Regions from separate parts of the Homo sapiens genome. Here region 2 is linked to region 1. The links are contacts of gene promoters, found by promoter capture Hi-C in blood cells and fetal thymus (Javierre and others, 2016). All regions are on one chromosome and are shown on one strand. The core of a region is centred on a gene start or on the middle of the fragment in contact, and the rest is flanking DNA. Distances in the headings are between cores, read along the strand shown. Region 1 holds the start of LTBP3 (latent transforming growth factor beta binding protein 3). Region 2 overlaps POLA2 (DNA polymerase alpha 2, accessory subunit).

Evidence for each region. The method cuts DNA at HindIII sites, captures the fragments that hold promoters and counts their contacts. A CHiCAGO score of 5 or more calls a contact.
Region 2: a fragment that was not itself captured here is called in contact with the fragment with the promoter of LTBP3 in region 1 in 1 of 17 cell types (monocytes); the score reaches 5.2 in monocytes.

What each region holds. Positions count from the first base shown.
Region 1 is chr11:65,556,717-65,560,519 of GRCh38, reverse strand. It overlaps LTBP3 (latent transforming growth factor beta binding protein 3), which reads left to right and starts at 2,161. Exons shown (of 28, transcript NM_001130144.3): 1 at 2,161-2,891. The coding sequence starts at 2,561. RefSeq lists silencers at 1,883-2,042, 2,093-2,332. The HindIII fragment of the contact is 7,741 bases long and covers 1-3,104 here.
Region 2 is chr11:65,278,552-65,282,006 of GRCh38, reverse strand. It overlaps POLA2 (DNA polymerase alpha 2, accessory subunit), which reads right to left. Exons shown (of 18, transcript NM_002689.4): 6 at 3,084-3,277; 7 at 2,381-2,469; 8 at 860-1,015; 9 at 275-337. Among named protein-coding and RNA genes, the nearest start is that of POLA2, 18 kb to the right of the region's middle. RefSeq lists an enhancer at 1,538-2,737. The HindIII fragment of the contact is 851 bases long and covers 1,561-2,411 here.

The DNA.
Region 1 (3,803 bases), core at 912-3,411:
TCATGCCACCTACCTCTCCAGCACCCCTACTTCACCCAGTCTTTACATCTCCCCTCCCAAATACATCTCTCCCAGGGCCAAGTGAGATCTCTCTCCTGGGATGAAGGCAGAGTGCCCGCTCTTGCCCTGACACAGTCCCACTGCAATGAGAATAAAAGCAAATTCCTCACCATGGCCGGCCCCTCCCACCACCACTACACCTTCGGCTCTCCCTCTCCACCACACCCTGTTGTTCCACTGGCCTTCCCTCAGTTCTCTGGATAGCCTCCCCCTGCAGCCTCCCCTGAGGTCAGATGCCCACAGGTGTGACTCACTCCTACTCATCTTCCAGCTTCCGATGGAAGACTCTCTTTGTCTCCCAGGTCCCAGCCCTCTCCTGTCCTGCTTCCCTGCCCTTCTCTGTCACGGTACCAGCCTCTGTTGTAGCCACAGTTCTGTGTGAATTGATCTGGCACATATCCAGCTCTCCTAGTACAGCAGCTCCAGGAAGGCAGGACTGGTTCTATTTGTGGCCAAGAGCTTAGGATGTGGTGGAGTCTCAGTTTGTTGAGTGAATTTTTTACATTTATTTTTTAATTTTTTGTTTTTTATTACCAGTAGTTGAACATAGATGTTGAGTGAATAGATACCCATCTCACAAGCAAGGAAACTGGGGCTTAGAGACAGTAAGAATCCAACCCTGGACTGTTTGACTGTGCTGTGCTCCATGGTGAGCCACAGCCAGCTCTAGGCAGAGTCAGGACAGGTTCAGATGAGTGTTAGGAAAAAATGAGTATACAATGCTCAGCCCTGTGCCTGGCAGGTGGTCGGCACCTAGCATTATTCCCTGCCTCCGTGTGGACCAGGGCCCCAAGAAGCAGGGGCTTGCCCCTCACACCCCATCCTGGATTCCGGCAGCAGGGATCCCTGGGGACATGTGATTGTCCCTCCCAGCCCTGCACCGCTTAGTAAGGGGGACTTACTAAGCGTCCCCCTAAAGCTACCCACATCAACTTACGCTCAAAGTAAAAACAGAGTTCCTTGGACAGGTGTGCCTGAAAGTGAGTCCCTGAACCTCCTCTCCCCAATTAGACTGCTGCCCCGGGTGCTGTCCGGGAGAGGGTCTGGTGCCGCCCTGACTTGGCAGCGCTTTTCCTGGATGTGCCCTAGCCGTCCCCACCTCCTGCTGAGTTCTGTGAGTCAGAGACGGAACCCTGGGGTCTCCTGGCAGGCCCCACAGTAAGGCCTGGGCCCCCGCACGTTGCAGCCTTTCCTTCCAGACCAGCGGACAAGCCTGGTCTGGAACTATGCTCCTCTCCAGCCATGGCCAACCTGAAGACCCCCACCCCCAGCCGCTGCCAGCCCCTGCCCTGGGGCTCTGCTGTGCCCCTCTCCAGCCCCTGGGCCCTCGGACAGCGCCCCCGTCCTCCCGGCTGTTAGCCTGGGAAGGGGGCCAGGCCCTGAGCTCAGACCTTGGCGATTCCAGAGTGTCTGAGGCCCAGAGCCAGCCCCGCCAGCACGGCCAGACGAAAGGAAAGGGGGGAGGTGGCAGGGTGGGCACCAGGAAGCCATTCCGAGGGGGCTGGCAGGGAAGCTGGGTTCTAGCTTTGTTCTTTCTGCTCCTCTTCTGGACCCCACAGACTTCCTCCTGGGACCTCCGTGAGCCCTGGCCAAAGGCTGTCCCCACCCTTTAGCCCTTTCCTCAGAGGGGATTGGACCAGCACTAACGAGAAGTTACTTTGGGGCCCTGAGACCCCCACGTTTGCAAGGGAGGCTGGGAAAGAGCTGGAAGGCCTGGGCTCCGGCTCCACCCGGCCTCCATCGTCAGTGTGACCCGGCAGGGCCACCTCTCTCCCTCAGCCTCGGTATCTCGCTCTACGCAGGCCTCCCCGCCCCGCCCCGCCCGGAGGAATCCGCGGCCGGCCAGACGGTCCCAGGTGAGGGCCCTCTGGAAAGGGCCCAGCGCGGCCGCGGGTTCCGGCGGGGGCGGGCATCTGGGGTGGGGACTGTCCCCGCGCCACCCCCCAGCCTCCGCCAGCCTGCACACCCTCGCTTCTCCAGGCGGCAGAGGCGACGCTTTAAACAACAAAAAAAAAAAAACTGTGTCCCTGGCCCGGGGCCAGCGTCCCAGCCCCCCTCGCCGCCGCCGCGCCGCGCTCCAGCCAGGGAAAACAACTGCTCACTTCTCCCTGAGCCCTCCCCGCGCGCTCCCTGCCTCCCCGCGGCCGCGGGAGAGGAGCCCGGCCAGGGGGAGGCGCGGAGCGGGCCGGCCGCCCGGCCTTCCTCTCCCTCGCTCCTCCTCTCCGCCTCAACTTGCTCCGGCCTCCTCGCTCCTGCCTGAGTTCGGGGCCTGGTCTGGGCTTCGTCCTGGGGCTGGGAAGTTTCTGCGCTCCCCGCTGTCCAGTCTGCATCTCCGCGCCTCCCGCCGGGCCCCCGCGGTCCCCTCCCGCCCGCTTCCCCCGCTGCCCTCCCTCGCTGCCCCCTACCCTCTCCCGGGGCTCCCGGCCCTCTACTCCCTTCGGGCGCGGGCCCCTCGCCCCGCCCGGGCGCGCCCCCCCTCCCCCGGGTCCTGCGGCCCCGGATGCCCGGGCCCCGAGGGGCTGCTGGCGGCCTGGCCCCTGAGATGCGCGGGGCGGGGGCGGCGGGGCTGCTGGCGCTGCTGCTGCTGCTGCTGCTGCTGCTGCTGGGCCTGGGCGGCAGGGTCGAGGGGGGGCCGGCCGGCGAGCGGGGCGCAGGCGGGGGCGGGGCGCTGGCCCGCGAGCGCTTCAAGGTGGTCTTTGCGCCGGTGATCTGCAAGCGGACCTGTCTCAAGGGCCAGTGTCGGGACAGTTGTCAGCAGGGCTCCAACATGACGCTCATCGGAGAGAACGGCCACAGCACAGACACGCTCACGGGCTCCGGCTTCCGCGTGGGTGAGGGCCGGGGGCACGGCTGGGGGCAGGGGAAGGACAGGCACCAGGCCCGGTGGGAGAGCTAGTGGGGTCTTGGCCTTAGAGACTGGGGGCTGAGGGTATAAAGGGCAGAGATCCGAGGGCCTGGGGGACCAGGGGCCTCAGGGAACTTGGGAGGCTGGAACTCTGGGGGCCAGAGTTGGAGGGCTGCATGGAGGCCTGGACTTTGAAGCTTTGCGTTAGGGTTGGGGCCTAAGGGGTGGGGAAATGCAGAGGTCCTGGATGACACTGGCTTCCCAGAAGGTGCTGAGTTCTGAGCAGGAGCACACAGGGTTTTTGAGGAATGTGAGCCGGGGACAGGAAGCCTCAGAGAAGGGCTAAATATTCCCGCAAGAAGCAGACTTGCTGGAAGAAACAAGAAAAGTCTTTACAAAATGTCTAAAGTAGGGCCTGCCAGAGTAGACACCTGCATTCCCTGGGAGGAGGAGCTAAGGTCAGGGCTGGGGATGGGAGCCGGCTACTGGCAAGGTCTGAGTAGGGAGGGTGTTGAGGCCTAAAAGTAGGGTGCAGGCCTGAAGGTAGGGACTAGTTCGGGGTTCTCAGCCTCTCCTTTTCCAATGCCTCCCCATAAGCTCCTAACATCCTGCCTCAGAGGCCCTCAGGGCCCCCCTCATCCTCCCCCAAGCCCCTACACCCTCCCCAGTTCAGCTTGGAGTCCACCCCCTCCCCAGCATCTCTCTTTAAAGGGCCAGGCCTGGGGCTCAGTCATCCTCCTGCTAGGCCCCGTGGGCCAGGCTCGGGGAGGTGTCCCAGCAGTAATTACCCTCCTGGACAGGGTAATTAGGCCAGGCCCAGGATGGCACCAGCAAAACAGCCCCTCTTACACATTCCTATATTCACTCTCCCACTCACAGAGCTAAGGAACCCCACTCA
Region 2 (3,455 bases), core at 737-3,236, 280 kb after region 1:
TTAAGAGTCCTCTATGGCTGCTTTTGTAGACAAAGGCAGAATTGAGTCATTGTGACAGAGACCATATAGCTACAAAGTCTAAAAGAGTTACTGTCTGGCCCTTTATAGAAAGGGTTTGCTGACCCCTGGCCTAGGGGTGGGTTCCCACTTACAGATGGAGAACTGACTAACAAATAAATGGGCTCCTAAAAAGGACCAGTTTCTAGAACAGACAGCTTCCAGACATACTTTGTCTGAAGCAAACCAAGAGGCAAGTGGGGGTACTGCTGTGTACCTCGTAGAGTTTGGTGGCAACAAGTTTCCTACCAGTGGTGTTGATTCCTTCCATAATTACAACCTGAAAGACAAAAACAAACAGGATTGCTAAGCAGTGGAGATCAATGAGGTCTGGAATACATTATTTTGAGGCAGTTAAAAGCATTGTCCAACTACTCTCATTCTGTAATCATAAACTTAGGGCATTTTTGTAGAAAACGAATTAAGGGCGTTGCATTAGTAATAATAATTATGCTCTATATAAGTGATCTAATTTTCACAACAATCCTATGAGGTAAGAATTATTATTTCCATTTTGTGAGTGAAGAAACTGTAGTTTAGATGGTTAAGTACCTTGTGCACAGTCATGCACCTCATGGAGCGGGGAGTTGGGATTTGAGGCTGCGCAGTCAGGTCCCAGAGCCTGGGTCAGAGCATGGGGGAAACAGGAATCCCAACAGTGGTGTCTGCTCTGGGGCATGTGCTCCAGCTGCACCCCATGGCAGCAGAGACAGGAACTGAGGAGCAGCTGCGCATGGCACAGCACCTACACTACAGGGGTAAAGAGTGCGCCTGCATTCTGGTGGAACTCCTCCAATCTCACCTGTCCAGGAAACAGAGAATATTCCTTAAGCTCAGATAAATCCACTGGAATTTGAGCACCCGAGGAATGTTCCCGGTCTCCCTCGAGAATCACTGACTTGTTGTTCAGCTTCCCGTTGCTATCACAGCCAATCTGGCCCAGCAGAGTGACAGGCTCCTACCAAAGGAAGGTCACAGCATAAGAATGACAGTCTTTGGAGCAGGAGCTCAAAATCTGAAGTCGATAGGGTGAATAGCAAAACAAACTGCAAACAACAAATACATTTCTTGGCAGGGCATTGCTTTGACCCTGAGGTGACTACCGCGTCATCACTGACTCTCAGGATGGAAGAACTCTGAAAGGGCATCTTGTCCACCCATCCACCCAGCACTTGAGCCTTCCTAGGAGGCTGCCTAAGTGTGAGCATCTCTAGTGTAGGGGAACTTGCCCCTGGATGCCTACCCCACCCTGTCCTCACCACCCCAGGGCAGCCCACTGCATCTTTGGGCAGCTATAACTACTTAATAATAGCTAACATTTCTTGAGCTTACTAAATACCATGCACTGTTCTAAAATGTATTCTTAGGCATTTTATATGTATTAACTCATTTAATCCTTGCAACAACCATCGGGTGGATATTACTGTATCCATTTTACAGATGAGGAAAACAAGCAACAGAAAGGTTAGATAATTTAGTCAAGGTCAAACTGTGGGTGAAGCTTGGGTTTGAAACCAGAAATTTGGCTCTAGAGCCATATCCTTAGCCACATACCATACAACCTCTTAACAGGAAGTTCTTTATTAATTGAGCTAAAATCTCTGTCTCCATGGCTTCCTCTGTTCTGTTCCCACTCTTGGGAGAAAACAGAGGAAGTCTCATCTTTCCCAGTGATTGTGCCTCCCTGCCTTCCCTCAATTACTTCCTTCCAAGTCCTCTAACACTTCCTTCTATGACACAGTTCTGCATCACTTCCCCAACTGATCATTCTTTGAATGTAAACATTGACAAAGGTACTTTAAAGAAACTTCTAGAATATATTTCCCCTTAGATTAGAAAACATTCTAGAGAGAAAGCACTGGTATATATGCCAGATTAAACTATGATATAAAGATACTATTGGCAGCAGTTTGTCTATAACAAGAGACCAAACCAGGGGAGAGACTGTGAGTCATTGTCCAGAGAACAAGATTCTGAAAACCCCACCGTCGCTGCTGTCCTTTTATCTCGATACGTGAATGCTTCTATTTGTGGGAAATCCCCGGGGAGCTACCTGACTCACCACCAAGGGAAACAAGGCCTTGAGTCTCTGCTTATGTGCAAGACTCTAATCCAAGTGGGAAGAAAATCACTCTCTGGCCACAAAACCAGACAGCACTTACAAATCTTTCTTCAGAAGGGCCCATTTTCCCAAATTCAACCAAGACAGATGTTCAAACTAGAACACAGACAAGAAGTGAAAAAGGAAGCAAGAAGGATGCCTCTTGGTCATCGATTTAAAAACGTAATATTAATTAGTGAGAACTATTAGAACAACTCTTACCTGTGCTGGGGCTAGCAAAGGAGTGAAAGCTTCAATCTTGTAATGTTCCTTGAGTTCGCTGCCAAGTTCTTCTATCTTACAGGTCAGAACTACAATCCCAGAAGTGGAAAAAAGTATTATGTTTAAGACATTTCACTTGCCAAGAAGAGAAAATACAGCACATTGTAAAATATTAAAGTCAGTCATTTTACAGAAGCAGGAAGGGTGCCTGGACATCTGGCCAGTTTAAACCTTCTAAAACCTTTGCCAATTTTCCGATATTTGGTTGCTGAATCTGGCCTTCCATCTGGCCACAGGAGACCCCATAGCACAATTCCAGGGAATCAGCATGAACCCCACCCCATCTCCAAGTCTGCCCTTTACTCAAGTCCTCACTGAGGTTTTAGGCAAGTCAAGGCCAACCTGAAGAAGGCTTCTAACGAAGGAACCATGAATATCTTTAAGTTGAATTCCTTTACATCGTTCAAGTTTTTGCTGCTGGGAATGGTTATGTGCGTTTTAGCAAAGTGAAGTGACTTGGGGCAATCACTGATAGTATTGCCCGTGTCCCTCCATTACTAGGGCTTCCATGAGGACATCTACCAACTCATACATTGAAAGGCAACCTTGGAACTTGTTCTACCAGCCTAGCTGAAGCTTTGTTACTCTACACCCTTCTAGGTGGTTTTATATCCACCAGAATTTCAAAGGGAAAAACAATCACCTTCTCGAATGTCTGGGAGCTTCTGAAACATGGATTTGTAGCTCCCAGTTAGTGCCTCTGGACATCCCAAGACCTTCAGGCTGATGTTTCCAGCTCCTCCTCTCCCAGACCAAGATACTCCCTGTGCTAAGCCGAAGGAGGTAACCACTTCTCCTCGGTTACTTCGTGAGTTGTATTTCTGGGAGGGAGTAGCACTAATTGGAAGCAAAACAGGTTAATATTACTGTGTTCATATCTAAAGGGAGAGAAGAATAAAATGAGGTTACCTTTGGAAATGGGGACTGGAGAAAAGGAAGGTGGCCTCATAGTTTATAAATTGAATCAGTTTAATGGGGTTGGACATACCCAGACCTTTAAGGAATTTCAGGAATG